6 separate regions of the Homo sapiens genome follow, and regions 2, 3, 4, 5 and 6 are each linked to region 1. Evidence: promoter capture Hi-C in 16 types of primary human blood cells and fetal thymus (Javierre and others, 2016). All regions are on one chromosome and are shown on one strand. Each heading gives the region's core, a stretch centred on a gene start or on the middle of the fragment in contact. The rest is flanking DNA. Distances are from core to core; before and after follow the strand shown.

What was found. Contacts are between HindIII fragments. The CHiCAGO score rates a contact against its expected background, and 5 or more counts as called.
Region 2: a fragment that was not itself captured here is called in contact with the fragment with the promoter of BEAN1 in region 1 in 7 of 17 cell types (total B cells, naive B cells, naive CD8 T cells and 4 more); the score reaches 9.7 in total B cells.
Region 3: a contact is called between a fragment that was not itself captured here and the fragment with the promoter of BEAN1 in region 1, in 13 of 17 cell types (total B cells, total CD4 T cells, activated CD4 T cells and 10 more). The highest score is 10.3, in total B cells.
Region 4: a fragment that was not itself captured here is called in contact with the fragment with the promoter of BEAN1 in region 1 in 16 of 17 cell types (total B cells, naive B cells, total CD8 T cells and 13 more); the score reaches 19.6 in total B cells.
Region 5: a contact is called between a fragment that was not itself captured here and the fragment with the promoter of BEAN1 in region 1, in 16 of 17 cell types (total B cells, naive B cells, total CD8 T cells and 13 more). The highest score is 22.0, in total B cells.
Region 6: a fragment that was not itself captured here is called in contact with the fragment with the promoter of BEAN1 in region 1 in 8 of 17 cell types (total B cells, total CD8 T cells, naive CD8 T cells and 5 more); the score reaches 7.8 in total B cells.

The regions. Positions count from the first base shown.
Region 1 is chr16:66,426,045-66,431,196 of GRCh38, forward strand. It overlaps BEAN1 (brain expressed associated with NEDD4 1), which reads left to right and starts at 1,251. Exons shown (of 5, transcript NM_001178020.3): 1 at 1,251-1,387. RefSeq lists an enhancer at 2,079-2,679. The HindIII fragment of the contact is 13,321 bases long and covers 1-5,033 here.
Region 2 is chr16:66,664,351-66,669,502 of GRCh38, forward strand. The region is part of intron 1 of CMTM4 (CKLF like MARVEL transmembrane domain containing 4); the gene reads right to left. Among named protein-coding and RNA genes, the nearest start is that of CMTM4, 30 kb to the right of the region's middle. The HindIII fragment of the contact is 4,749 bases long and covers 1-4,338 here.
Region 3 is chr16:66,645,497-66,650,648 of GRCh38, forward strand. The region is part of intron 1 of CMTM4 (CKLF like MARVEL transmembrane domain containing 4); the gene reads right to left. Among named protein-coding and RNA genes, the nearest start is that of CMTM3, 43 kb to the left of the region's middle. The HindIII fragment of the contact is 8,901 bases long and covers 1-5,152 here.
Region 4 is chr16:66,628,588-66,633,739 of GRCh38, forward strand. The region is part of intron 2 of CMTM4 (CKLF like MARVEL transmembrane domain containing 4); the gene reads right to left. Among named protein-coding and RNA genes, the nearest start is that of CMTM3, 26 kb to the left of the region's middle. The HindIII fragment of the contact is 3,499 bases long and covers 333-3,831 here.
Region 5 is chr16:66,579,079-66,584,230 of GRCh38, forward strand. CMTM2 (CKLF like MARVEL transmembrane domain containing 2) reads left to right here and starts at 385. Exons shown (of 4, transcript NM_144673.3): 1 at 385-814; 2 at 948-1,106. The coding sequence starts at 530. CKLF-CMTM1 (CKLF-CMTM1 readthrough) reads left to right here. Exons shown (of 4, transcript NM_001204099.2): 4 at 1-57. CMTM1 (CKLF like MARVEL transmembrane domain containing 1) reads left to right here. Exons shown (of 4, transcript NM_052999.4): 4 at 1-57. The HindIII fragment of the contact is 685 bases long and covers 2,013-2,697 here.
Region 6 is chr16:66,557,725-66,562,876 of GRCh38, forward strand. CKLF (chemokine like factor) reads left to right here. Exons shown (of 4, transcript NM_016951.4): 2 at 466-624. It overlaps CKLF-CMTM1 (CKLF-CMTM1 readthrough), which reads left to right. Exons shown (of 4, transcript NM_001204099.2): 2 at 466-624. Among named protein-coding and RNA genes, the nearest start is that of CMTM1, 6.1 kb to the right of the region's middle. The HindIII fragment of the contact is 3,229 bases long and covers 1,602-4,830 here.

The DNA of each region.
Region 1 (5,152 bases), core at 1-2,500:
TTTTGAAACGAACCCAGCTTTTGACTCCCCTTGCCTCCTAAGCCCCAGTTTCCTCATCAACAGTAGTGGTTCAGAGAGTGTTAGCAACAACACATTTCATCAATTCCTGCAGCAAATTCACTGAGTGCCCACTCTGTGCAGACCCCTGCAGCCCTACCCAGACGCTGCCCTCCTGGCGCTCCCAGGCAAGTGGCGGAGGTTAAATAAATAACTCCTCCACGCTGGCGAGCACCCCAACACAGTAGGGGTGCAATCATTGGGAGCAATATCCTAATGAGGACAGGGAGGCCTGAGAGATGGGCTGGGATTCGTCCAAGGCCCCAAAGCAGGGTGGGGACAGAGCAGGTCCTGGAAGCCTGGAACCCCGGCCTGAGCCAGGCATCCCCTCGGGGCCGGCTTCCACCTGCCAGGGCTGAGCCCTATGCCCTGACGTTTGGGCAGCGGGGAACGGGGGCACAGGGAGGGTGACGGGGTGAAGGAAACAGGCCTGCTGGTGGCTCCGAAGGAAGGTTTGGGCCAGGCCTAGCTGGAATCCCAAAACTCACCTGCCAGCAACCGCGAGCGGGAAGCCCTGCCAGGCTCGCCTGCCCCTGCCAGCGGCCCAGCCACGCTGGGTCCCCCTCTCCATCCCGCACTTTGCTCTTTGCCCGCGACAGGGGTCCCCTGCTCAAATGCCCAGCCTAGCCTCGGTCCAACCTGTCTGGCTGTCCTTCCCTGACACCTCGTTTGTCTACCCTTCTCTGCACGTGTCAGTGGCTCCCCGCTCGCGTCCGTGTGTCATTCCCTACACACGCCTGTGTGTCCTCTTCACACGTCTGACTGGAGCGTCGGCCTCCCGCATTTCCCGGCCTCCTCGCCGCCCTGCCCCGCCTGCTGCTGTGTGGGTGTCGGGCTGGCTGTGCGCAAAGGGGCGCGGCTCGGCCCTCCCCCGCACCCGCGCCCCCCGCCCCGCATCTCGGAGTGACCCGGGCCGCGGCGCCGCGGTGCTGAGGCCCGGGAGCCGCGCCGCCGCCGAGGGGGGCCGGGGCCGGTGACGGTGGCGTGGGCGGCGGCGCGGGGACGACGGGCGGCCGGGCGGGGCTGCGGCAGGGCAGGGCCAGGGCCAGGGCCGGGGCCTGGGAAGCCGCCGCCGCCGCTGCCTCGGCCCGGGATCGCGGGCGGCTGGTCGGCCCGGCTCGCCTGGCCCCGCCTGGCCCGCCCCGCCCCGCCCCTGCGCGCCCAGCAGGCCGAAGCGTAGCGGCGCGCCCCCCGCGACGCCCGAGCCCGAGCGCAGTGGCCTCCGAGCGGGAACCGGACTGGGAGCCGGAGCCGGGGCGGGAACCGGAGCTGGAGCCGAAGCTGGAGCCGGCACTGCGGCGCACGGAGCGGAGCGCTGCAGCCAAGCCGAGTAAGGGGCGTGGGGCTGGGCGGCGCGGGGGAGGGGCGGGCGGGGGGTCCCGGCCCCATTCCCCCGCGCTCTGCGGTGGTACCGGCGAACGACACACCCGGGGGCGCGCCGCGCGGAGCCTCGGTGCGCGGGGCGGGCGGATGCGCGGTCCGGAACGGAACCGCAGCGCGCTCGGAACGGAGCGGGATCCCGGGTCTCCCGCGGACCCTCGACCCCGGGCTGGCCACTGGGATCTGCGCGAGCCGAGGCTGACCCTGATCGCGCCCTCGGGCCTCGGGGAAGGGGAGGTATCCAGGTTTTCTGCCTGACTCGAGTCCCCGACGAGCATCAACCGCATTTGGGGAACCCAAGACAGCCTCCCCAGCAGCTTGCCCTCGGTTTCGGGGACCCCTGAACAACCCAACCAAGAAGGGAAAACTAGGGCGCACTCTCGGTCGGGGTGGGAGAGGAAAGGGGCTGGGGCTTCACGGAGTTTGGAGTTTGAACCCACCCGCACCCCTTTGAGCTAGGAAGTTTGACCCTTCGACGAGCAGGTCGCCTGGGGTATGCCCCTGTCTCCGTGCCTCTGTCTCAGCACCGAGCGTCGGAGAGAGAGCGCGCCCTCCGCACCTTCTCCCACTTTGGGACAGACTTTCCCTTGCGCTGTCAGAGGGACCCGAGGCTGAGTACGAGGCGAGGCGGCAGGCAGCTCAGGCTGGCTGCGCAGCGCTGAGTGGCACCGCCGCCGCTCCCCAGGGGCAGGGCCCACCCCACACCCGGCTGACTCTCGCTGCCCTTCCTCCTTCCCTATCGGGCTCTGCGGTCTGGAGGCTGGAGAGCGGTGAGGACCAGGGACTGCCCTGTCCATCTCGGGCGGGTGCCGGCGTGGGTGGCGGGGCGCAGGCTGGGAAAGGGAGGGCGCAAGTAACTGGTGTGAGAGGCAGGGGTTCAGGGATCCTTGCTCTTGAGCCACGATTTCCGATGAGCCCCTGCCGAGAGCATGCCGCTCTGGACTCACTCCTCAAACATAACTGCTCTGCTGGAACGAGAGACTTCACCACCCTGTGCCTCAGTTTCCTCATCTGAAAGTAAGCAGGAGTCTGTTGTGAGCGGGATGTTTAAGGGATTTGGAACCAGAAGGTGGGCTTGGCTGACTTCCTGGCTGTACAACCTTAAGCAAGACACAAACCTCTCTGAGCCTTAGTTTCCCCATCTGGAACATGGGGAAGGTGAGTTGGGAGGATTAAATGAGATGATGCTGGTGAGGGTATGTAGCCTGGTGCCTGGCACGCAGCCAGTGGCCAATTGTGGTGGGCTACAGGTGTCCTGAGGTGTCCAGCACCAGTAGATGCTGAGATTCAGTGCCTCTGAATCTGAAGTGGTGCTCCCAGCCCCCTCCAAGGAGGCCTTTGAATTCCCCAAGCTGTTGACATTTAATTGCAAAGCAAAACTTTCTCCTTAGGGCCCACCCTTTCTCAGACGCTCCCTCCTCCAAGGCTCTCTACCGCCCAGCCCAGTTCTCCCCTGCTACCTCCCATCTCTCTCCAGGGTGAAAAGGCTGCATCTGACTGTAAGGTGCACCCTTTTCCTCCTTGCCCTTAGCTGATGTCCGCTGCCCCAGAGAGGGGCACCCACCCATTGCTCGAGCTCCGTACAAGGGAATTTAACACCTCCCTCCACTCCCGGGTGGAGGATTGCTTTCCCTGAGGAGCCATCAGGCTGTCAGGTGGCTTGGACACACCGATGGTGACGGTTCAGACAGGCAGCAAGAAGCACCAGGGAGACAGCCTAGAGGTCTGAGGGGTCCCAGCCTTGATTCTTCGCAGACTATGATGTATTCGTCCAGGCAACTGGGCCATGAGGCACCAGAAATGAAGGATGTCGGGGAGGAAATGGAGCCAGTGATTGAGAGGTTCAAACTTCAGAGCAGGGTGTCCCCAGGAAGGGATTTGCTCCAGTCTGTGTGGCTGGGACCTTAGACCCAGAGCAGAGCAGGGCATAGGCCCAGGGGATAGGGGAGGATGCTGGGATCCTGGAGGTGGCAAGGAGCGGGTGGGCGGGCAGGAGTGATGGGAAGAAAGCAGTGGTCCAGTTCACACCCATGTTGGTCCCTGGCCACCTGTGCTGTGTGGGTGTTCTGGCCCAGCTGCCCAGAACAGGGATGGGGGAGGAATCTCAGATGAGGAAACATGTCCACATGGTGCCAGGGTACACCTGGTAAGACAGGCAAGATGAGCTGCCACCTGGGGCCTCCTACACGGAATCTCCCTCTCTCCTCTTCTTCCTCTGTAGCTTCCCCCTCCCCTTCCCCATTCACCCACTAGGGGTCACGTCGCTGTGTCTTCCAAAATCCTCACTCCTCATCTTCCCAAAGGAGTTAATCAGGAACTAATTAGGCTTGAGTCTCCTGCTTCGCTCAGGATTTGGAACACAGCCAGTGGGGAATGTGACGGGGATGCAGGCATTACTGTCAGGCTTTAGGAATAATCAGCCGGACACCCTCAGAGGACCATTGTCTGAAACTCTTGCCCTGGAAGTACTCAGAGGATAGGGTGAGGGGCATCTGCTGTCAGCCTCCTAAAGGGAGAAACTGAGGCCAGGAGGGCTTCTGCAGTCCATTAGCAAGCAGGCACAAACAAGAGTCACGGCTGAGAGCAGTTTTTTGGAGCTGGACCGCCTGGGTTTATAGCATGTGGTTCTGGGAAGGTGACTTATTTTTCAAAGCCTCAGTTCCCTCTTGAAAATGGGAATAAATGTTACACACCTCCCAGAATAGTGTGAGGATGAAGAAATCATATACAGATAGCACATAGCCATGTCCAGTGGACCTCTGCCAGTGGCCTGCAGTGTCAACATTGTGAACATGCATTGCACACACGCTGTTTCCTAAACGTATGCATTTTCTCTTTGAATTCTGATAACCAGCTCTCTGATTTAGGAACTATACTTGTTCCCATTTTATTGATGAGAACACTGAGGCTTGAAACGTTTAAGGACTATCTAATTCTGCCAGGTATAGAATAGTTAAAACATCACTATGACTCATCCTAATTGTATGAGTTTGTAAAACTGATAATTACCACATTGTAATTTAGATGATATGTAATCAGTTATTAGAATGATTCTTTCATGTACATCTTCAATCATTTTATGTCTGAGAACTGAAAAAGAATATGTTAATTGTCCACAGGCTATAGAATTTTTAGACACCTTCGTATTTTGTTTTCCTGTTTGAACAGTAATCAAACTGATTTAAAAGAGCAGTTCCCTGTTCATTACCTATCCTTCTTCTCTCCATTTTTCTCTAGAGCACTTATTACCTCCAACATCTATATATCTTATTCATTTGTCTATTGTATGCCCACGTCAATATAATGTGAGCACTGCAAGAACAAGGACTTTTGACTGTTTTGTTCACTATATCCTCAGAGCCTAGACTAGTACCCAGCACTTATTGTGCCTTCCAAAATTATAAAGTGTTTTACAAACATATGGTCTATTATTGTTATTATTTTTGCCAAGTGTATAGGTTGATTGAAAATAAAACATTAAGTTAATAGCAGAAACCATTCCCTCAAATATTTGGCAAATAGGACTTGCTCAAGTGCCAAGGATAATTTGATAAAGGTTAAAAACAATGGATATTATTTTTCTAGTATTATAATAAAGCTTATCAGTGAGTTCAATGACAAGTAAATTAAAAAAATTTTTTTCAATAACAAATGACATGTTCAAAGGCAATTAGATTAGCCTTAAAATTTTTCCTTGAGAACACCCCGGCATGGT
Region 2 (5,152 bases), core at 714-3,213, 240 kb after region 1:
GAAACTTGGAATATCAGTAGTGAAAGAAAAGCAACAGAAATGGTAAAAACCTCGGTAAACATAATATACAATTCTTCTCGAGTTATTTCAAGTATGCATGATGGTTAAGAGCAAAATCTGTAACAATGTTGGGATTTCAATGTATTTGACAACGAAAACAAAGTAGGAGGGTAAAGGGACCTATGTACTTGCAAGGTTTCTGTATTTCATTCTAAGTAATGAAATGTTAATTATAAGTAAAGTGTACAATATTAATGTTATAATTATGTGTATGTATAATGTAATTCGTAGACCAAACACTTAAAAAAAAAACTATATAAAGAGATACTAGTCAAAACTCAATAAATCAATTATAATGAAATACTAACAAATATTCAAAGACTCCAAAAGAAAAGAGGAAAGGGAAAACAGGAACAAAACAGAGGGAACAAACAGAAAATAAATAACAAAATGGTAGGTTTAAATTTAAGCATACTAATAATTACATTAAATATAGGCAGGACATGGTGGCTCACACCTGTAATCCCAGCACTTTGGGAGGCCAAAGCAGGAGGATTGCCTTGAGGCCAGGAGTTCAAGGCCAGCCTGGGTGACAGAGCAAAACCCTGTTTCTCCGAGAGAGAGTCTCCCTCTGTAGCCCTGGAGTACAGTGGTGCAATCACAGCTCAGTGCAGCCTTGACCTACCGGGCTCAAGTGATCCTTCCACCTCAGCCTCCCTAGCAGCTAGAATTACAGTTACATGCCACCATGCCCAGCTAATTGTTTTGGTATTTTTTTGTAGAGACAGGGTTTTGCCACGTTGTCCAGGCTGGTCTCGAACTCCTGACCTCAAGCAATCCATCCACCTCAGCCTCCCAAAGTGCTAGGATTACAGGCATGAGCCACCATGCCTGGCCAAGACCCTGTTTCTTAAAAAAAAAAAAAAAAAAAAAAAAAAATTTAATTAATTCAAAAGGGATCATAGATCTAAATGTAAAATGTTAAACAATAAAATTCAGAAGAACACATAGGATAAAATCTTTATAAGCTGAGAATAGTTTTTAGACATGACACCAGAAGCATAATCCATGAGAAAAAAAATGGATAAAATTTCTTCAAAATTAGAAACTTGGTCTGGGCACGGTGGCTCACACCTGTAATCCCAACACTTTGGGAGGCCCAGGCAGGCAGATCACCTGAAGTCAGGAGTTCAAGACCAGCCTAGCCAACACAATGAAACCCCATCTCTACTAAAAATACAAAACTAGCTGGGTGTGGTGGTACATGCCTGTAGTCCCAGCTACTCGGGAGGCTGAGACAGGAGAATCACTTGAACCCAGGAGGCTGAGACAGGAGAATCACTTGAACCCAGGAGGCAGAGGCTGCAGTAAGCAGAGATTATGCTACCACGCTCCAGCCTGGGTGAGACAGAGCGAGACTCTGTCTCAGAAAAAAAGGCCAGGCATGGTGGCTCATGCCTGTAATCCCAGCACTTTGGGAGGCTGAAGCAGGTGGATCACTTGAGGTTAGGAGTTCGAGACCAGCCTGGCCAACATGGCAAAAACCCGTCTCTACTAAAAACACACAAAAAATTAGCAGGGCATCATGGCACACACCTGTAATCCCAGCTACTTGGGAGGCTCAGGCAGGAGAATGGCTTGAACCCAGGAAACGGAGGTTGCAGTGAGCGGAGATTGCACCACTGCACTCCAGCCTGGGCGACAGAGTGAGACTCTGTCTCAAAAAAAACAGAAAAGAAAGGAAAGGAAAGGAAAAGGAAAGAAAGAGAAAGAAAGAAAGAAACTTGTTCTGCAAAGGAAATTGTTAAGAAAATAAGACAGGCCAGGTGCGGTGGCTCACGCCTGTAATCCCAGCACTTTGGGAGGCCGAGGCAGGCGGATCACAAGGTCAGGAGATCGAGACCATCCTGACTAACACGGTGAAACCCCGTCTCTACTAAAAATACAAAAAAATTAGCCAGGCGTCATGGCGGGCGCCTGTAGTCCCAGCTACTCAGGAGGCTGAGGCAGGAGAATGGCGTGAACCCAGGAGGCAGAGCTGGCAGTGAGCCGAGATCACGCCACTGCACTCCAGCCTGGGCGACAGAGCAAGACTCTGTCTCAAAAAAAATAAAATAAAATAAAAAAGAAGAAGACAAGCCACAGAGTTAAAATATTTGCAACTCACGTATCTGACAAAAGTCTTGTATCCAAAGTATATAAAGAATTCTCAAAATTCAATAGTAAGAAAACAAACTGCCCAATAAAAATTACTTGAACAGGTTCTTCACCTAAGAGATGGCAAATAAGCACAAAATGCTTGATATCATTAGCCATTTTAGGGAAATGCAAAATAAAGCTATTATGAGATGCCACTACACACCTATTAGAATGTTACAATGGCAGTCATAAAAAAGAATGAGATCATGCCCTTTGCAGCAACATGGATGGAGCTGGAGGCCATAATCCTAAGTAAATTAACACAGAAACAGAAAACCAAATACCACGTTTTCACTTATAAGTGAGACCTAAACATTAAACTCCTGTGGACATAAACACGGAAACAACAGACACCTCTGATTACTTGGAGGGAGGGAGGGAGTGAGGAATGGGTGGAAAAACTACCTATCAGGTACTATGTTCACTACCTGGGTGCAATATACCCACGTAACAAACCTGCACATGTACCCCCTGTATCTAAAATAAAAGTTGGGGCCGGGCACAGCGGCTTACGCCTGTAATCCTAACACTTTGGGAGGCCGAGGCAGGCGGATCACCTGAGGTCGGGAGGTCGAGACCAGCCTGGCCAACATGGCAAAATCCCATCTCTGCTAAAAATACAAAAATTTGCTGGGTGTGGTGACACATGCCTGTAATCCCAGCTACCCGGGAGGCTAAGGAAGGAGAATCGCTGGAACCTGGGAGGCAGAAGCTACAGTGAGCTGAGATGGCACCACAGCACTCCAGCCTGGGCACCAGAGCAAGACTCCCTCTCAAAAAAATAAAATAAAATAAAAAATAAAAAAATAAAAGTTGTAAAATAAAATAACAAACGTGAAGGTTTTATAAAGCAATGAACTAGGGACCTGCTATGTACTACATTTCAGGTTGTGATATTAAATGACTCCATTTTCTTTGTAGAAATGTGTCGTCATATGTAATATCACACCTACATACATAAGATGCATTTACACACAGTTCAAAATGCATATCAGCTTCCCTTACATTACCTTTTGATATTAACATATGAACTTTACAAAGTTTAAAAAAGAAAAAAGGGCCGAGTGCGGTGGCTCATGCCTGTAACCCCGGCACTTTGGGAGGCCGAGGTGGGCAGATCACGAGGTCAGAAGCTCAAGACCAGCCTGGTCAACATGGTGAAACCCCGTCTCTACTAAAGATCCAAAAAATTAGCCAGGTGTTGTGGTGTGTGCCTGTAATCCCAGCTATTTAGGAGGCTGAGGCAGGAGAATCGCTTGAACCAGGAGGCAGAGGTTGCAGTGAGCCGTGATCACACCACTGCACTCCAACCTGGCTGATAGGGCGAGACTCTGTCTCAAAAAAAAAAGTAGTTACCATCTTTGGAAATAATATTTCTTCTGTTTTCTTTGCTTTATATGAACCAAAACTTTTCCCTGTTTTTTTGTTTTTTTTGTGAGTTTTTTGTTTGTTTGTTTTGCTTTTGGTTTTTGAGAGACAGGGTCTCACTGTCACCCAGGTTGGAGTACAGTGGCAGAATTATTGCTCACTGAAGCCTCCAACTGCTCAGCTCAAGGGTCCTCCCACCTCAGCCTCCTGAGTAGCTAGGACTACAGGTCACACCACCAACAGAGCTATTTTTTTTTTTTTTTTAATTTTGTGTAAAGACAGAGTTTCGCTATGTTGCCCAGGCTGGTCTCAAATTCCTGGACTCAAGTGATCCTCCCACCTCAGCCCCCCAGAGTGCTGGGATTACAGGCATGAACCACCATGCCCAGCCCCATTTTCTGGTTGGTTTGTATGCTTGATTCTATACAAACTAAGTTCTGCTTATGGCCATTCTGATGCCTTGCTGGTGTTTTGTAGAGTTGCTATGACCACAGAACTTATGGATTGTTTTTGGAAATATCTGTCCATGTTTTTGCTTTTTCTTTACTATTCTTAGAATATACTAAAATTTTTTGTTGATCCTAAAGTAAATATACATAATTTGATTTAACTCCTCATTTTTGGCATTTGGAATGTAATAAAATCTGGATAACTTTAAAGTGTCATAATATTATGAGTAAGATTTGAATTGTTGAACTTGGAAATCTAGAATGTCATATATTTTAGGATCTCTGAGGAAAACAGATGACAACACTTCACTGTCCCTAAATAAGCTTTTGACTATTACCTTAAAATCACCATGAGTTTTGAAGAGTTGAGAAACTTGCTGGTATTTATTTCTTTATATTATTCCTAATAAAATTAATTTCTCATCTGCGTCAACAAAAAGAATATTACAACAGCTTTAAAAAAAAGGACTATGAAGGGCTAGCCAAGAGGCAGAGCGACTGGAACTCCCATGTACTGCTGGGAAGAATACAAAATGGTATAGCTACGCTGGAAAACTGCTTAGCTGTTTCCTGTACAGTGAAACACGTACTCTATGACCCAGCAATTTCACTCCTGGGTATTAACCCCAGTGAGATAAAAACCTACATTCACAGAAAAAAATGGTATGAATATTTACAGTAACTCCATTCATAATCACCAAAAGTTGCAAATAACTCAAATGCCCTTTAACAGGTGAATAAAGAAACTGTGGGACATGCCTACAATGGAAAACTACTCAGCAATGAAAAGGAATGACTATTCATAAAATACAACATGAATGAATATCAAATGCATTACACTGAATGAAAGACAGTCTTAAAAGTACATACTTATGATTCCATTTCTGTGACATTCTGGAAATGACAAAACTATACTGATGAGAAACAGATGAGGTTGCCAAGAATTGGATGTAACTACAAAGAAAGGGAACGAGGAAGTTTTGTGGGTTGATGAAACTGTTGTTCAGTATCCTCATTATGGTAGTGGCTACACGAATATATGTGCATGCTAAAACTCATAGTACTGTACACCAAAAAAAGTCAATTTACTACATGTTAATTAAAAAAAAAAAAAAAAAGAGCATGTGAAGACCACC
Region 3 (5,152 bases), core at 1,200-3,699, 220 kb after region 1:
AACCCGGGAGGCAGAGGTTGCAGTGAGCCAAGATTGCGCCACTGCATTCCAGCCTGGGCGACAGAGACTCCATCTCAAAAACAAAAAACAAAAAACTGTAACTGTGCACACCTTTAGACCCAGAAATTCTAGGACTATGTACCCTATGAATAAATGCACATGTATGACGCTGCACTGTGTGTCGTATTAAAAAGTAACCAGGCCGGCTGTGGTGGCTCACGCCTGTAATCCCAGCACTTTGGGAGGCTTAGGTAGCTGGATCACCTGAGGTCAGGAGTTCGAGACCAGCCTGACCTATATCGTGAAACCCTGTCTTTACTAAAAATACAAAAATTAGCCGAGTGTGGTGGTGGGCGCCTGTAATCACAGCTACTCGGGAGGCTGAGGCAGGAGAATCACTTGAACCCAGGAAGTGGAGGTCACAGTGAGCTGAGATTGCGCCACTGTACTCCAGCCTGGGCGACAGAGCGAGACTCTGTCTCAAAAACAAACAAACAAACAAACAAAGCAGGAGAGCCATGGTGAATAAACAACAGCACATCTACATACAGTAAGAAACACAAGGCAGAGAGATGGGGGATTCTGTGGACTGGCGGGGAAAGGGTCCAAGGGATACTTAGAGAAAGAACAGAGTACAGCACACAAGGCATAAAGTGACCCCATTTTTGGTGAAGAACAAAAAATAAGCATATTTGTGTTTACAAACACATTTATGTGCATTGAAGGATTTAAGCTAAACAGTAAAAAATCAATACCTCTCTATGGATTAGGATTAGGTGGGGAACAGGGGAATCACAGAGATTTTACCTTTTTTAATTAACACTCCTGTCGTGTTTGAATATGTAAGAAATATACATATTCATACATATATGTATTTATAATACATGCATATAATATATACACATATATGTACACATTGTATATAACTGCATGTATGTAAATATATCACATGTATATATTATAGATTCAGGAAGAATCTATAGTAAAATATTGATAGTAAACCCATCTATATGGTAGAAATGTGGATAGGTTTATTTTCATTGAGCCCGCTTTCATGTTCCAAAATTTCTACAAAGAGTATATGTGTTTTTAATTAGAAAAAAAAATTAAATGCCCTATGTATGGACACTTTTTTGAAACATCCAGGTTATGAGTTAAATTTTAGTGACCTCTAAGAACCAATCCTTACTTGTTTTGAAACCATTCATGAATTTTTTTTTTTTTTTTTGGGACACAGTCTCGCTGTGTTACCCAGGCTGAAGTGCAATGGTGCGATCTTGGCTCACTGCAACCTCCACCTCCTGGGTTCAAACGATTCTCCTGCCTCAGCCTCCTGAGTAGCTGGGATTATAGGTGTGCACCACCACACCCGGCTAATTTTTGTATTTTTAGTAGAGACAGGGTTTCACCACGTTGGCCAGGATGGTCTCGAACTCCTGACCTCAGGTGATCTACCCACTTCGGCCTCCCAAAGTGCTGGGATTACAGGCGTGACCCACCACGCCCAGCCTGGTCAGGACTTTTTAAAAGCCCTTTTGACCAGGTGCAGTGGCTCACACCTGCAATCCCAACACTTTGGGAGGCCGAGGTGGGTGGATCATGAAGTCAGGAGATCAAGACTATCCTGGCTAATACGGTGAAACCCCGCCTCTACTAAAAAAAAAAAAAATACAAAAAAGTAGTCGGGTGTGGTGGCAGGTGCCTGTAGTCCCAGCTACTCAGGAGGCTGAGGCAGGAGAATCGCTTGAAATGGGGAGGCGGAGGTTACAGTGAGCCGAGATCATGCCACTGCACTCCAGCTTGGGCAACAGTGCGAGACTCTGTCTCAAAAAAAAAAAAAAAAAAAAGTCCTTTTAAAAAGTACACAGGCTTCACAATTATAGCCTGTTTTCACAAAAGAAAGTTCTCTTTTTAGTCCAGATTTAATCTTGTCAGTCATCTGAGAAGTCAAAAACTTACCCTGTTTTTCCATCTAAAAAAGCAATCTATGACATCACCTAGAAATACGTGAGCATTGCTTCTGATACACCATTGGGGGTAAGGAAGGTGTGCGCAGGGCCAACTGTGAGGAGACTGGGGAAGAAGTTGGACAAAAGAGCAAATGAGGAATGTGAACATCTATCTCTCTGAGTGCTACTCAGAGAAGTTCAGGATCCAGCCTTAATCACCCACACAAAACACCAGAGAACCTAACTTCAAACTATTGTTCTTTCTTTTTTTAAAAAAAAATGAGTCTCACTATGTTGCCCAGGCTGGACTCAAACTCCTGGCTCAAGAGATCCTCCCACCTCAGCCTCCCGAGTAGCTGGGATTACAGGTGCACGCCACCACACCCAGCTTTGCTGTTCTTTGATTACTCATTAGACATCTGTGTGAGAGAAGTTGTGAAATCATTTGATAAAAGTGGTATTTTTATTTACAGTGATGGTGACCCACTGCTTTAAATGCACTTTGTCTGTATTCACTTGAATCCAAAGCAACTCTCATCCTATAAAAGACAGCTGTCATTAGGGTTGTAGGAGTCATTAATGCTGGCTGCCAAATATTTGTGGTTCTCCACCATCCAGCACCTTCCCCGCATCCTTTGAATTTGTGTGGGGCCACAAGACTACTTCTGGCTAATGAGCTGCCAAGTGCATCACTTTCAGGTGGAAGACTTTGTTGCCAGTATGAGATGTTCCAGAGACCTCCCTTCACCACAGTGCCCAGCAAGCTCTGAAATGTAGCTGCTCTACCAGCAGTGAGGACACATGGGCTAGAAAGAGTAAGCAGAAAAATGAACCTTGGTTGTTACTACCTAGTATTCTTGCTTTTCCCAACTGCTACGAGGATGGTGCCTTCATCTGTTTGGGAATGAAAATATTTTTCCTGGATCTGAGTTTTTCCTCATCATTAATATCTTAAGAAATCTTAGCACTTTGGGAGGCCGAGGCTGGTGGATCAACTGAGGTCAGGAGTTCAAGACCAGCCTGACCAACATGGTGAAACCCCATCTCTGCTAAAAATATAAAATTAGCTGGGCCTGGTGGCGCATGCCTATAATCTCAGCTACTCAGGAGGCTGAGACAGAAGAATCGCTTGAACCCGGGAGGCGGAGGCTGCAGTGAGCCGAGATCACGCCATTGCACTCCGGCCTGGGCAACAAGAATGAAACTCCGTCTCAAAAAAAAAAAGAAATAAATCTCAGCCCCCAGGCCGAGCACGGTGGCTCACGCCTGTCATCTCAACACTTTGGGAGGCTGAAGCAGGCTGATCACCTGAGGTCAGGAGTTCAAGACCAGCCTGGCCAACATGGTGAAACCCCATCTCTACTAAAAATACAAAAACTAGCTGGGTGTGGTAGCGCAGGCCTATAATCCCAGCTACTCAGGAAGCTGAGGCAGGAGAATCGCTTGAACCCAAAAGGCAGAGGTTACAGTGAGCCAAGATCATTCCACTGCACTCCAGCCTGGCTGACAGAGCGAGACTCTGTCAAAAAAAGAAAAGAAAAGGAAAAGGAAAAGAAAAGAAAAGAGAAATCTTAGCCCCCAGACACTATGTTCTAAACAGTGACTGAGGTTGCTGGGCACAGTGGTGCACACCTGTAGTCCTAGCTACCCAGGAGGCCTAGGCAGGAGGATCGCCTGTGCCCAGGAGTTTGAGGCTGCCTACCGTGAGCTATGATCATGGCTGTGTAATAGCCACTGCACTACAGTCCCAGCAATAGCGTGAGACCCTGTCTCTTAAAAAAAGAAAAAGTTCCTGAGGTGGGTGTGGACATTTGCCTTTATGTTTTAAAAGTCCATTTTTTTTTTAAAGTAGTATTTAGGCAAGTACCATCCCTTTATTCAGCTAAAATTAACTGAGGATCTACTACATGCCAGGCACGATCCTAACTCTAGGGATGCATTGGTGAACAAGCTCCTTAGGGAGCAAATATGCTGCTTTTTTCTTTTGGTCTTGATTCCTTCTCTCTATCTATCCATCTATCTATCTATCTATCTATCTATCTATCTATCCCTGATTTTTTTTCTTCCTAATATATGCATTATTTCCATGACAGGTCATTTCAAATCTATTGAAGAGTATATCCCAATTTAATCATGACTTATATCACCTGGTGTCCTGCAGACTCCACAGTGGGAGCAGGTATGGTCCGTCCTCAGCAGCCTCCCCACTCCCTAAGCCTGGGCTCAACCTCAGCCTTGCACTGGGTTCACACCCTCCTATGAACATGAGTCAGGTCCAGAGCCCGACTCCCTCCTCATGGGGGGCAGGGGCAGGGCTCTCACTGGCACTCGTCTGCTGCCCTCCTCTCCTGAGTATGGCTTCTTTCAGGGCCCCTAATCCCTGTACATGTCAGGATCACAGACATGTATAAGAAAGGCCACGCCCCAGGCAAACAGGGTGAGGCCAGACAACTTCTCCCTCAACCCTGATCGTTTTGTGGCACTTGGAGACTCTCTGTGCTTAAGGTCTCAGTTCCAGTCCAGCCAACACACGCTATTATACACAAAAAGAACTAACCAGGTGCGTGGCTCGGTGCCCAGGGAGGTATCGAGACAAAAAGTGCTGCTGGGATTTGGAAGAGGGAGGGTCAATGAGGGCTTAGGCAGCAGCAGAGGCTTTAGGAGGCTTCCCAGTCAACACCAAACTCAGGTGGTCTTAGAGGAAAAACGGGAGAGAACATTTGTGTGAGATGGTGCCTAACTTTCAAGATGTGTTCCTTGGTTGGCTGGAGGTGGGTGGAAGGTTGGGATACAACCTAGTTCCTCACCAAAGTGCCTCTGTTTTATGTTTATACTCCCATTAGCAGTGGTTCCTAAAGTTTTCTGGCCAAAGAACCGAACACCTGTTAATAGCCTTCTCCTAAACTAATGTTCCAAGACTAGTTTGCAAACCATCGTTCGGGTTTATACATTGGGAAAGTATTTCTGTTGTGCTTTTAAAAAATTCTTTTTAAGGCTGAGACTACAGATGCAGCCTGGCCCTTTCCCTTACAGAGGAGCAGCTCCAAATGGACACAAGTGTGGAGAGTGGTGGGCCCCGCAGACATACAGCTTTGGGTCTTCTCATACTAAGCCCCATGCTGTTCCCACCTTAACTATATCCCTGGTCTTAGGGTATCAGGCACACCAGCATCTTAACAGTCCTGAAAAGCCTCACAGTAAAA
Region 4 (5,152 bases), core at 832-3,331, 200 kb after region 1:
GGTTGGGGCAAAGTGGCTGGGGCAAAGTTACAAATTAACAGCATCTCAGCAAAGCAATTGTTCAAGGTACAGGTAAAAATGGAATTTCTTATGTCTTCCCTTTCTACATAGACACAGTAACAGTCTGATCTCTCTTTTTTTCCCCTACATCTTCCACTTAGTATAATGGTTCTAAGGTTTATTCATGTTGTAGCATGTATCAGTACTCATTCCTTTTTATTACTGAATAATATTCCATTGTATAGATACACCACGTTATTTATCCTTCATCAGTTGATGGACATTTATTTCTACTTTTTGGTTATTATAGATAATGTAGCTATGAACCTACAAGCTTTTGTGTGAACAAGTTTTCATTTCTCTTGGGTCATCAGATGATTTTTTTTAAATTATCTATTATCTTCTAGTTTTTGGGGTTTTTTTGTTGTTTTGTTTTGTTTTGTTTTACAATAAGCACTTATTACTCACACAACTTGAAAGGCTTAATACTGGAATACTGCAAATCTTAAGTCAGCATCAAGCACTTGAGTTCCTGGGCCATGAAACAAATCAAGGCTGAACTGATCACAAATGAAATATTTGTACACAGAATCAGCTGGGGGCTGTCACTGCAATCCTGGTTGGCCCCCAAACCAATGTGCTAGGTGGCTGGCTCTAGCCTCTGTCCTATCCATCCAGGAGACAAGAACGTTTGCAAGCACTCGACCCATCCTTTGCACTCACTTGTGCTTGAATGGCCCCAGGATCAAAGGGACAATTATAATGTTGATGACAGTAGCAGCTACCATCTATGGAGTCACTGTGCCAATCATATCGCTCCCAGTGAATTCTAACCTAATTATGATCCAAAATGCCCACAAGACAGGACTTGTTATTTTGCTCTACTTTCATGGATGAGGAAACTGGGTCCCAGAAAGAATGAGTGTGCTATAATGAAAAATATTTAATCAAATCCTTGAATCTCTTGAGTGATATGAGCATCTTTTGTTATTCATAATGAGTCCCTTTCAATCATACCCGAGTTTATGCTAACGAAGTGACTTTTGTGGGAAGAGGGTGGTAGACAGTTTCAGGATAGGGGCAGGTCACCAGAAAAACCAGCCAGGTGATTAGAGAGTTGGAATTTTCAGCCCCATCCCCTGGACCTCCAGGGAAGTTAGAGGAGCTGGACATTGAGTTCAATCACCAAATGGCCAATCAGTCATGCCTACCTAGTGAAATCTCCAGAAAAAATACCTGAACGATGGGGTCTGGGGAGCTTCTGAGTGGAGCTCATTCTGACTCCATAAGGACAGAGGCTCCTGCATCTGAGGCCCTCCAGACCTCACCCTATGCATCTCTCCCATGTGGCTGTTCCTGAGTTGTATCGTTTAAAACATATCAGTAATTGTTTAAGTAAAGCCCCTTCCTGAGTCCTGTGAGTCACTGCAGAAAATGACTGAACCTGAGGGGTGGTGGAAACCATCGAATCTGTACTCAGCCAGACAGAAGTGCCTGGGCACCCCTTTTGCAGCTGGTGTCTAAAGTGGGGCCATCTTGTGGGACTGGGCCCTCGTCTGTGGGATCTGTGCTAACTCCGAGAGTTAGTGTCAGAATTGAACGGAATTGTTAAACACCCAGTCAGTGTCAAAGGATTACAGAACAGCTTGGTGTGGAAAATGTATTTGGTGTCAGAAAAAAAAAAACACAAGACTTTCCCTCTCCCTCTCCCCCTCCCCCTCACCCTCCCCCTCCCCCCTCCCTCTCCCTCTCCCCACAGTCTCCCTCTCCCTCTCTTTCCACGGTCTCCCTCTGATGCCGAGCCGAAGCTGGACTGTACTGCTGCCATCTGGGCTCAATGCAACCTCCCTGCCTGATTCTCCTGCCTCAGCCTGCCGAGTGCCTGGGATTGCAGGCGCGCGCCGCCACGCCTGACTGGTTTTCGTATTTTTTGGTGGAGACGGGGTTTTGCTGTGTTGGCCGGGCTGGTCTCCAGCTCCTAACCGCGAGTGATCCGCCAGCCTCGGCCTCCCGAGGTGCCGGGATTGCAGACGGAGTCTCGTTCACTCAGTGCTCAATGGTGCCCAGGCTGGAGTGCAGTGGCGTGATCTCGGCTCGCTACAACCTCCACCTCCCAGCCGCCAGCCTTGGCCTCCCAAAGTGCTGAGATTGCAGCCTCTGCCCGGCCGCCCATCGTCTGGGATGTGAGGAGCCCCTCTGCCTGGCTGCCCAGTCTGGAAAGTGAGGAGCATCTCTGCCCGGCCGCCATCCCATCTAGGAAGTGAGGAGCGTCTCTGCCCGGCCGCCCATCGTCTGAGATGTGGGGAGCGCCTCTGCCCCGCCGCCCCGTCTGGGATGTGAGGAGCGCCTCTGCCTGGCCGCGACCCCATCTGGGAGGTGAGGAGCGTCTCTGCCCAGCTGCCCCGTCTGAGAAGTGAGGAGACCCTCCGCCCGGCGGCCGCCCCATCTGAGAAGTGAGGAGCCCCTCCGCCCGGCGGCCACCCCATCTGAGAAGTGAGGAGCCCCTCCACCCAGCAGCCACCCCATCTGGGAAGTGAGGAGCGTCTCTGCCCGGCAGCCACCCCGTCCGGGAGGGAGGTGGGGGTCAGCCCCCGCCCGGCCAGCCGCCCTGTCCGGGAGGGAGGTGGGGGGTCAGCCCCCCGCCCGGCCAGCCGCCCCGTCCAGGAGGGAGGTGGGGGGTCAGCCCCCCGCCCGGCCAGCCGCCCGGTCCGGGAGGGAGGTGGGGGGTCAGCCCCCGCCCGGCCAGCCGCCCCGTCCGGGAGGTGAGGGGCGCCTCTGCCCGGCCGCCCCTACTGGGAAGTGAGGAGCCCCTCTGCCCGGCCACCACCCCGTCAGGGAGGTGTACCCAACAGCTCATTGAGAACGGGCCATGATGACAATGGCAGTGTTGTGGAATAGAAAAGGGGGAAAGGTGGGGAAAAGACTGAGAAATCGGATGGTTGCTGTGTCTGTGTAGAAAGAAGTAGACTTGGGAGACTTTTCATTTTGTTCTGTACTAAGAAAAATTCTTCTGCCTTGGGATCCTGTTGATCTATGACCTTACCCCCAACCCTGTGCTCTCTGAAACATGTGCTGTGTCCACTCAGGGTTAAATGGATTAAGGGCGGTGCAAGATGTGCTTTGTTAAACAGATGCTTGAAGGCAACATGCTCCTTAAGAGTCATCACCACTCCCTAATCTCAAGTACCCAGGGACACAAACACTGCGGAAGGCCACAGGGTCCTCTGCGTAGGAAAACCAGAGACCTTTGTTCACTTGTGTATCTGCTGACCTTCCCTCCACTATTGTCCTATGACCCTGCCAAATCCCCCTCTGCGAGAAACACCCAAGAATGATCAATAAAAAAATAAAATAAAATAAAATAAAATAAAAAAACACAAGACGAGTCACGCCCTAGGGCTCAGGGCTCAGCCAGTGGCCCCTGTGGGTAACTGCCAACTGTTCTCAACCCACCACAGCACCCAGCCTGGGTTCTGAGATAGAGGCCTAAGAGGCCTCCAGGGCCACAGAGCCCACTAAGAAAGGGTGACCAAAGCGGAAGAAGAAAAACAGGACAGTGTGGGGGCCCAGGATGCAAGGTGAGAGAGTATGGCAGGAAGGACAGAGTGCCCCATAGCAGACACCACCAGGATGTTGAGTGGGGTGAGAACCCAAGAGCAACCAGAGGATCTAGGAACACGGAGGCCCCGTCCCAGGCTCCTGACCAGGGGACTTTCAATGCTGCCAGACTGGAGTGGGCTGAAGATGAATTGCGGAAGACCACCACATAGTCAGGATGGTGGACTGGGGGAAGGGGCAGGGGGTGTGTTTAGCTGGAAAATACACATGGGAAGCTTTTGGGGTGTTGACAATCTCCTATTTATTGACCCAGGTGGTGGCTGTATATTAAACTCCATATTTACTTTCATAATTTTTTCAGAATTTGACAATAAGAGATTAGAAAAGTGAGATTAGGAGAGGGGGAAGTAGAGAAGGCAAGTGCAGACCTCCTCTTCTGGGAAGTGGGGCTGAGCTGGCCCTGGGCTCTGGGGCCAGTTGAGTGGGAGCCACTGGCAGGCTTTTGGGATGGGGGAGGATCAGACACGCCTTTTAGATAGCGCCACATCCCAGAAGGGAAGGGGAGGAAAGGAGGAGCCCCGTGGCACTAATCAAAGTAAACAGGGGTGGAACATGTGAGTGTATGAGCTCCTAGGACACAGAGAAAAACAAATATCGCCAGGCACGGTGGGTCACGCCTGTAATCCCAGCACTTTGGGAGGCTGAGGCGGGCAGGTCACCTGAGGTTGGGAGTCCAAGACCAGTCTGACCAACATGGAGAAACCCCCTCTCTACTAAAAATACAAAAAAATTAGCCGGGTGTGGTGGCACATGCCTGTAATCCCAGCTACTCGGGAGGCTGAGGCAGGAGAATCGTTTGAACCTGGGAGGTGGAGGTTGCGTTGAGCCAAGATTGTGCCACTGCATTCCAGCCTGGGCAACAAGAGCGAAACTCCGTTTCAAAATATATATATATAAATATATATATATATAAATATATATATATAAATATATATATATATCAAAGTCCCACAATCCATCCAAAAATAAACCCAAACCAAAAACTTGACATTAACAGAATCATTCAAATTCCATCAAATTATGCTTGTAGAAAATTATGCACTGTCCTCCTTATTTATCATTTCTCATCCATATTTATGTCAACCTGGGCTCCTGGAATGACCTGTGTTTTTAAATCTATACCAATCACACCCTATTTTAACCATCAGGCTGGCTCTGCTGGAGACAAAAATACTCCCAATACTCCCACCACCTTGTTACAGAAACACAACACAGCCAAGGCCAACCCTTCTGTAGCGAGTTGATGAGCTGAGATCGGCCGTGAGGAGCTCACTTTTTCACCCCTCTCAGAGAACACTGGACATGAGCTGCCTTTAATAGATACCATCTTGGCAGGGTGCAGTGGCTCACGCCTGTAACCTCAGCACTTTGGGAGGCTGAGGTGGGCAGATCACCTAAGATCAGGAGTTGGAGAACAGTCTGGCCAACGTGGCGAAACCTCGTCTCTATTAAAAATACAAAAATTAGCTGGGCACGGTGGCACATGCCTGTAATCCCAGCTACTCAGGAGGCTGAGACAGGAAAATCACTTGAA
Region 5 (5,152 bases), core at 1,105-3,604, 150 kb after region 1:
TCACCCATTCCAGCCTAAATGTGACCATAAAATTAGGGCTGCTGCTTTTATCGAGAACACCTGCTTCCTCTCGTTGCCTTGTGTGAAAGTCGCGTTGTATTTTCCTGCGCTTGGCGCTGCGCCCGCGGAGCTCAGGGCCGTGACCCGGTGCTCGCAGCCCCCCGACCCCGCAGCGGAGCGGCGGCTTACAGACCTGGGGCCACCTGGAGACGCCGGGATGGGACCGCGAGGGCAGCTCCGCGCGGAGGTGGGACCGGCGGGTTGGGAACGGAGTTGGGGCCCGTCGGGGGCCGGCGCGTGGAGGGTGGGAGGATCCGGCCGCTGCCGGGCGGATGGGAGCTGCGCGAGGAGACGGGCGCGCGTGGAGAGGGCGCGGGAGTTGGCATTCGGTGGTCCTGGCAGTTAGCTGAGCACGCCCTCTGAGCCGCTCGGTGGACACCAGGCACTCTAGTAGGCCTGGCCTACCCAGAAACAGCAGGAGAGAGAAGAAACAGGCCAGCTGTGAGAAGCCAAGGACACCGAGTCAGTCATGGCACCTAAGGCGGCAAAGGGGGCCAAGCCAGAGCCAGCACCAGCTCCACCTCCACCCGGGGCCAAACCCGAGGAAGACAAGAAGGACGGTAAGGAGCCATCGGACAAACCTCAAAAGGCGGTGCAGGACCATAAGGAGCCATCGGACAAACCTCAAAAGGCGGTGCAGCCCAAGCACGAAGTGGGCACGAGGAGGGGGTGTCGCCGCTACCGGTGGGAATTAAAAGACAGCAATAAAGAGTTCTGGCTCTTGGGGCACGCTGAGATCAAGATTCGGAGTTTGGTGAGCTAAACTGGTATCCCTGGGTGGGGGGCCTTGGCCGAGGGTGGGGGGAAGGAGGAGTAGGCTCCAGGGGTCCTCAGAGAGATGGTGAAAGGCCCTTGCTGCTGGCTCAGGTGTCTATGTCTCACTGCAGGGCTGCCTAATAGCTGCAATGATACTGTTGTCCTCACTCACCGTGCACCCCATCTTGAGGCTTATCATCACCATGGAGATATCCTTCTTCAGCTTCTTCATCTTACTGTACAGCTTTGCCATTCATAGATACATACCCTTCATCCTGTGGCCCATTTCTGTAAGTAAGGGGTGATGGGGAGTGCCTGCATCCAGAATGCTGATCAGGTGTGTCTTGGCACCTGGAAAGTCACCAAACAGAGAGACACACCTCACCTCCCATATCTGTGCCTGGGTCAGGGACTCAGAACATCAGTGGGGCCCAGGCAGAGGCAGCTGGGTGCAAGAGGGGTAGCTAGGCAGAAAATGCTCCAAAAAGCCTATCTGTGTGTTGGAGTGAGAGTGGGGAACTCTTACTTACCTGGTGGTCAAAGAGGGCCTGAGCCTTTGTTCTCTTTAGGGGAAGGGGAGGTGTAGCAACCAGCTGTTCCTCCGAACTCCTGTGCCAGCTCACACTTGACAGGAGATCACCCCAGAAGGACCCCATTCCCAAAATTCAAAGAAGAAAATTACTCTCCCATAAGTCAATAAAATAAAACAAAATGGGAATTTTTTTTAAAAATCACTTCTAAAGCAGCGTTAGGTCTCCAGTGAATATCCCTATAAAGGATGTTTGGATCAGAAGGATGTTCAGCCCAAAGCAGTCATCTAGTGGAAAGAGACAGAACTGGGCAAGTTACTAAACCATTCCCAGCCTGTTTCCTCATCTGTAACATGAGACAGTCACATTCCTTGCAGAACTGACATTCAATCCTGAGGATTAAATGTAAATTGCTTGACACCGTGCCTGAGGACTCATGGAATTGAATCCCTGCCCATCACCTGTTTAACCACAGGGCACAACCACCTAACCCCTTGCCAGTCAATGAAGACCCCAATTCCCAAGTCCCTTTGTTCATTGCACATTCACAGCCTGCCTCCAGAGCCCTCTTGTTCACTGTTTCACTCACGTTACACATGAGGAAATTGGCCTAGAATGGCCAAGTAACTTGCCCCCAGGTCACTCAGCTGGTAAGTAGCAGAAAAAAGCTTCAAACTTAGCTTTATGAGTACATTTCATCCTGCCTTCTTGTTAAAAACTATTAGGGTCCAGGGATCCAGAGGTCTTGGTGAAGCAGATGAGGACCTCCGATACAGGGAGAAAGGACAGGAGGGCCAAATAAGGACTCTCAGAAAAGGGACAAGCAGAGGACAAGGTAAAAGGACAGGCAGAGGACAAGTTCCTAAACAAGGAGCCTGAGAAGACATTTTTAGTTCCAGCAAGATGAAAAACCAATGAACCCTGAACATCTTCCCACTGTGCTTACCTAAAAATACCAGGGGAAATGTAACCAGTATTGCTTTAACTGAATGAATGAGCTGGCAAAAAAGAAATGAAAACACACAGGCGCCAGAAATGGCAAACAGGGCAGTGATCACATAAGCTACAAAGTATGAGTGGGAATGGTCCAAGAGGTATTGTCTCAGGAACCTACAGCCTGGATTTTCATGCACTCTCAAGTCAGGAAATAAGGCCTTGATCCTAAGCAAAGTGGGAATTTAGAACTGAAAACCCTGTATAAAGCCAGCGCCCTGGAAAGACTACCTCCTTAGGGAAAAGATGGACAAAGACACATACCCTTCTTATTCCCAACACAGAGGAATAAGAAAACATGTTCATCTCTGCCTGAGCTTTGAGTGGGCGGAGAGGAAGTCTTCCTTGAGAAATAGAAAGCTTAAGCCTGCCCTTTGTACAGATTGGAGTTTGAATTTTTGTTATCTGCAGCCTAGAAACCTTCATGCAGCCCAGAAACCTTCATCCCTGGGAATTACCATAAAAACTGATCCCAGTCTGATGACATTCTGCTGATATCCTTGGACTCCTGATAGAAACAAATGCAAAATCACAATCAAGGCATGAAGAGATTCTCACAGTGGGGGTGGGGGGAAAACCTTGTCAAAAATGAACTAATAATTCAAAACTACTAAACACCTGATTTTAAAAAATCCCCATTACTAAGAATCAACAAACACAACAAATGGATTAGAATCCTGAGAATATGAGATAATAGAAGAGCTGTCTGAAAATAATAATATATTTTAAGGGATTATAGACATAAGAGTCCTGAGAAAAGAGTAAGACACTATGAGGACAAAATAGACAGATTTTTAAAAAGTACAGTGTCTAGAATAGAAAATATAGTTATTGAAATAAAAATGTCAATAGATGAATTCAAAAACAGATCAGACATAGCTGAAGGAGGGAACTGTTAACTGAAAGGTATGGGGAAATTACCCAGAACACAGCACACAGAGAGAGAGAAAATAAGAGATTGAGACAGAACAATGAGTGAGAACATCCATCAGTGGTTGTTGGGCTGGGTGTGGTGGCTCACACCTGTAATCCCAGCACGTTGGGAGGCTGAGGTGGATGGGTCCCTTTGGTCCAGGAGTTTGAGACCAGACTGGACAACATAGGGAGACCCTGTCTCTACAAAAAAATTTAAAAATTAGCCAAGCATGGTGGCACATGCCTGTTGTTCCAGCTACTCAGGAGGCTGAGGTGGGAGGATGGCTTGAACCCAGGAGGTCAAGGCTACAGAGAGCTCTGATGGTGCCACTGCACTCCAATCTGAGTGACAGAGTGAGACCCTGTCTAAAAAATAATAAAAGAGGTGTCAAGAAGCCAGGCACAGTGATGTGTGCCTGTAGTCCCAGCTTCTCAGGAGGCTGAGGCAGGAGAATGGCATGAACCCGGGAGGCAGAGCTTGCAGTGAGCCGAGATCGTGCCACTGCACTCCAGCCTGGGCGACAGAGTGAGACTCCATCTCAAAAAATAAATAAATAAAATAAAATAAAATAGACATCTATCCAAACCTGCACAAATTGTATTTTAGGTGACACTTCAGGAGCATTTCCTTAGAGATGCTTACTAGCTTCTCTTGTATTCAACATTGTGATAGAGACCTTAGTTCAATATGACAAGAAAAACAAAAGGTATAGAGATTGACAAGAGGAAAAATCTAATAGAATTATCTACACAGAAAATCTAAGAGAATCTACAGTCAAATCACTAGAACTGATTGAGTTCCACAAGGTTACCAGACACAAAAGCAGTAGTGTTCCTGAATACCAACAATGAACAATGAGAAACATAGGATTTTTTTGGCTGGGCACGGGGGCTCACAGCTGTACTCCCAGCACTTTGGGAGGCCGAGGTGGGTGGACCACTTGAGGCCAGGAGTTCCAGACCAGCCTGGCCAACATGGTGAAACACCAGCTCTACTAAAAATACAAAAATTAACCAGGCATGGAGGTGCATGCCTGTAATCCCAGCTACTCGAGAGGCTGAGGCATGAAAATCGCTAGAACCCAGGAGGCAGAGGTTGCCATGAGCCGAGATGGAGCCACTGCACTCCAGCCTGGGTGACAGAGCGAGACTGTCTCAAAAAAAAAAAAATGCTCTTTAAAAGAAATCACTTAAAACAGCAACACAAACTACAAGGTGTCTAAGAATAAACCTACTGAAAGATGTGTAAGACACTACATAGAGATTATAAGACTTTAGTAATGGACATCAAAGGAAAATGTAAATAGAGAAACATTCCACATTCACAAATATGAAAACTTATCATAGAGATGTCAATTCAATTCTGAATTAATCTATAAATTAAATAAAATTTCAACCTAACATGGGTTTTTCATGGCACTTTTACAAGGTGATTCTAAAATTCTTATCAAAGAAGAAAAAATACTAACAAGGATGGACTCACCCAACAAGATATCAGATTTACCATAAAGCTTTGGTACTAGCTCAGGGATTGACAAGAAGACTAACAAAATTGTTACAGATTGAATGTTTGTGTCTCCCACTCTGCAAAATCATACGTTGAGGCCCTAACCCCCACTGTACTGTACTTGAAGATGGGCCTCTAAGGAGGTAGTTAAGGTTAAATGAGGTCAGAACATTGGGGCCCTGATCAAATAAGTGTCTTTTGTTTGTTTGTTTTGAGACAGAGTTTTGCTCTTGTCACCCAGGCTAGAGTGCAGTGGCACAATCTCAGCTCACTGCAACTTCCACCTCCTGGTTCAAGCATTCTCCTGCCTCAGCCTCCTGAGTAGCTAGGATTACAGACATGCGCCACTAAGCCCGGCTAATTTTGTAATTTTGACTAGAGACAGCGTTTT
Region 6 (5,152 bases), core at 1,966-4,465, 130 kb after region 1:
GGATGATGAGAAAAGGAGCTAGCAGAGGACAGATTGAAAGTACAAGGGGGAACGGAGGTACTTGGTGGAAAAACATCAAGAGAACTGATGTGGGAAGTGATAGTGTCAGAAGCACAAGAGGAATAATTAATTGGACTTAAAACAGAGAGGAATACCCAGTCCTCTAAAAGACAAAGAGAAGTCAATATCATACACTTTAGGCATGGCTGTTTTATATGTGTGTGTATATGGCAGAAACCCCAGTATCTGGTTATTTTTGTTTATTTGGAGATGAGGTCTCCTTATGTTGCCCAGGCTGGTCTTGAACTCCTAGCTTCAAGCGATCCTCCTACCTCAGCCTCCCAAAATGCTGGGATTATAGGCATGACCCACTGTGCCCAGCCTATTATTTTAGAAATTGTCATTTTTACAGTTTAAATTTGTATTCAGTTGTCACTGAATAAATCGTGGGTTTTTTTCTTCTAGGCACTAACTGTGACATCTATGACCTTTTTTATCATCGCACAAGCCCCTGAACCATATATTGTTATCACTGGATTTGAAGTCACCGTTATCTTATTTTTCATACTTTTATATGTACTCAGACTTGATCGATTAATGAAGTGGTTATTTTGGCCTTTGCTTGTAAGTGTTCAGTTTCATCCTTAAATTTTACTTTTTCCTACCATAGTGAGATATTCTAATGAACTCTGTTTTTTGCTTCTCTTAAACCTTTAAGGTAATCTCTGTTAGGCTTAGGAAGGAGGAGCTCTACCCATTGCTAATGTGCCCTGTATTGCTTTGGGAGAGGGTCTCAAGGATGCAGGGCAGCCACAGAGCATAAGTTCTCTGCACCATCTATCAGTAGATGTGGCTGACGCTTCTGTTAGAATTCACTTGGATAGATCTTCTAAAGAAATTTAAATTTAGGACCATGTTAACAAAATTGTAGTGCATTCTTAATCTTTATTACCTATTTGGATGCATGTTAATATGGCCTCAAAATTGGGATAGAGATGGAGACAGATACACAAGTATCTATCCTTGCACATCTTTGGTCACTAAATGGAAAATCAAACTAATTGGGGAGGCTAAAGTACAATGTTATCTCACTTGAAAATATCTGTAGTTATTACTAAATAATGTTGGCACCTCTTATATTTCATAGTATATAGACTGTAACCTGCCATACTCATATAATTAGGAATAACTGCCCAGTGGAATGCCCAGATGGTTCTGAAAACTGTCAAATTGGGCAGATTGAAGTTATTCGTTAAGATGTATGCAGCCCCTCAGCCTGGACTAGAAGCTGATTCTAAGAAAAACTGAGTGACTTCTCCTCTGTCCTCTTGCAAGTCTCATTCCCAGCATCCTGTCTCTGTAGGTCTCCCTCCTGAATCCCCCTGCTGCCCTTCTCCTCTTTGGCTGGACTGATTGCTGCCATGTCTTCCTTGGCTGCAGTGGTCTCATCCTCTTGGATGCCACAGTGCTAATATCCAAGCTGATAATTCCTATTAACAAGAAAAGACTTTAGAGCTATTCTTAAACCATAAGCATGCCTTTAAATGGTACCTTCTGGAACCACCTTCAAGGCCAGTGGCAAGCATTTCAGGCAAATCATAAGCTTTTTAAAAGTCCTAAAAGGGAAAAGCTGGGAAATAGGATCTTCATAGAACCTCTCCTCTCAAAACTACTTGATGTACACTTCAGAGCTGGACTTCGTTGGAGGGAGGTCTAGGAGAAGAGATTACAAAGTCTTCCTCAGTTGGCCCTCATTTAGTGGCAGAAAGGGTTAAACTAAATTTTTCTAAAGATTTCTTCAAGAGGATAATGAACACTGGTCCACATCCTCTAGGTCTTGTATAGTTGCTTTTCACACTCTGCTTCTCTAGAGTTTAATAAAACTAACACATTTTAGCCTTTCTTTTTTTCCAAACATAATTCCTTGGAGTTTCTTACATGTCCCAGTAATAAACTGGGAGCCAGGAGTGTAACAGAATACACTGAGAGAGAGTAGCTTATATGTAGCACACTGAAAGGAATAGTCCCCAAATCTCTAAGGATCAAACTTTACTGATATTGTATCTCTTAGAAATGGGGTGTTATATGGGTAACTAAGTTTTTGCTCCATTACGAAACCCAGAATCCTTTCTGATCTTGATCTAATGAAATTATTTATTCAGCAAATGTTAAGTATTTGCTAATCCTAGATTCTGTAATTGGTTCTTTGGTTAAGACAAAACAAAAACCTTGTACCTCAGAAACTTTAAATGCACCCAGGAAGCAACACAGAGAATATAGGTGCTATGAGAGATATACACCTAGGATGGCGTGGATGCAACCCAGCAAGGGAAAGGGACCAAGTCACAGTAGGCTGTGAAGAAAAAGTGCCCAAACTGAGGGCTGAAGGATGAAACGTAGTTAGCAGATGACTGATACAGGGAAGGGAAAGTGCTTTTCTGCTAGAAAAGCAGCAGCATATGTGAGGGTCTAGGTGGAGAAAGAGCATGACCCTCCAGGACCTGCAGGTGTATCTGAATGGTTGGGTATTGAGTTGTGAACAAGAGCTGGGGCAAGAGTGAGGTTTGTGAAAACAGGGTCAGGGCATACAAGGGTTTGTGTGCTGTGGACTTTAACCCAAAGGCTAATGGGAGTTTTTGGAGGTTTTTAAGTAGGAGAGTAGCATGATCAGATGATCAGCCTCCATGTCTTGAGAGGATACTGAGAGAGGAAGAATATGTTTAAGGAAGGGTGCAGGAGAGCAGTATGTAATGAGTTTAGCTTGATAAATACTAGATTTTAGTTACTTAAAAGATATTCATATGGAGATATTCAGAAATGGTGTGAAACTTAAGAGGAGCTAGAGCTGCCGTTTTAGGAATCATCACCTCGTGATATTAACTGAGCTCGGACTGGCCACAATAGCTCAGAGAGAGTGTAGAGAGAGCTGAAGGTAAAACTGGGAAACGCCAACATATGAGATGAGGAGTGGCCAGAAAAGGCAGGAGAGCACCCAAGTGTGACTGGTGTCACCGAAGCCAAGATGGGAATACATTTCAAGAAGAATGGACACATTTAAACAGAAAGATAAGTATACACACACACACACACACACACACACACACACACACACACTTTCTCTCTCTCTCTGCCCCCTGGTGACCTTTTCCAGAGGAGTTTGCCTCCAGTGGGCAAGTGACAGGAAAGTTGTAGGACTGAGCAGGCAAGGAAAGAGACAACTAGAGGGGTCATCTCTGAACTGAGGAAATATGGCCAGGGACAAATAAAAGTAATGAATAGAGTGAGGTCCCTGCAGAGTAGAATTGGAGCCAGAGCACAGGTGGAGAAGTTGCCTGGGGATGTTACCTAAAGTGTAGGACACAGAGATGGCTGACTGTTCCAATTAATCTGTAGGTGGGGAAAAGGTAACTTAGAAGTACCTCCATCTGCTAGCCACTGCCTTTGCTAACTAGGAGAGGGCTTGGTCATCTCCATTCAAATTGTCCCAAAGTTGTTGTCCCTGATAACAGTCTGTAGAGCAGGCCTTCTCTGATTGTTCCCCCCCGAGAGCCCCAAATGACAGAAAACACAAAAAGCCAGTCAACCCATGGCTTTGAGGAGGTATCTAAGCATAGGCTCAGAATTCCTTTGAAATCCCTATTTTTGTAATTAAGTTTACATTCTACTCTGTGGCATATAGATGTTTTCATTTTTAATATAAAATAAATGGTCTAAATTACTCTTGAGGATCATTGGTGTTTCGGGGCAGGCATATCTTTTTTTTTCCCCCTGTGGTTCTCTGCACTCCCTAGAACACCACTTTGATCCAAAGCCATCTATAAACCCTTGCCCAGATTGCTCACAGGAGGCAGGCTGCCTGTCTGAAGTAGGAGTGTGGTCTGTTGCCTTTTGAAGCAGAGCAAATATCCAACACAGAAGAGAGTTAACCTAGAATAGTTGTCTCAGTATCTCCTACAAATGAGAACTTTTTTCTTCCTAAGTATATCTGATCTTGCCCTACCCCCATTGAACCTGTTCCTACTTTCTTTCTAATAACTGCTTTTCTAAATTACCAGGGTTTTGCAGTTTGCTATTTGGGTTATTCCTTCCTGCCTGTGGTTATCTGCAAACATACATAAACCTTTCTCAGCTAGACAGTTTACCTTTCCCACGCTACACATCCATTTTAAAAATGTAAAATTGCACTTCTTGACATCACAGTTAAGAATGAAACTGATTTTTACTTTGTAAAAGTATTAAGCGAATGAGCTATATCATCAGCAATAATAACATAATTGGTCATCCATTGCATAGAGATGTCTGTGGGGGTTTCCTGAAAATTACCACTTTCTCTTAAGTGTGTGCTATTTTAAGTTTTATTAATTGCCTTTTTTTTTTTGAGACGGAGTAAAAAAAATTCCACCAGGCTGGAATGCAGTGGTGCAATCTTGGCTCACTGCAATCTCCGTCTCCTGGCTTCAAGCAATTCTCCTGCCTCAGCCTCCCAAGTAGCTGGAACTACAGGCGCTCACCACCATGCCTGGCTAATTTTTGTATTTTTTAATAAAGACAGAGTTTCACCATGTTGGCAAGGCTGGTCTTGAACTCCCAAAGTGTTGGGATTACAGACATGCACCACAGCGCCCAGCATTAATTGCATTTAGTAACTTAAAGTTTGATATACAATGTAGACTACTCTGCATTTTCTTACGTTATTAAAAATGAGCATTTTTACTTCCCATGGCACCCCTTCTACCTTAAACTTTCTACATAATACATCATCTACTTTATTTCCTAATCAGATGAGTTTTCCCTTCAACTACATTTATGTTAAGTAAAAAAGAAATAAAAAGCTTTTTAAGTAAATGATTGGCATATCACAGGTAAAAGAAAACCACTAGGTGTCATTATAGACCAGATACTATCTAGGTATCATTTTACTGTGACATTTTGGTTTCCTGAAAGATAGATGCTAAATAAATTTGTTTAATAAAATGAAACTTTCAAAATATTTAGGAAGCTGACTCCTTTTGTTGCAACAGAGTCTCACTCTGTTGCCCAGGCTGTAGTGCAGTGGCATGATCTCAGTTCACTGTAACCTCTGCCTCCCGGGTTCAAGCAATTTTTGTGCCTCAGCCTCCCGAGTAGCTGGGATTACAGGCATGCACCACCA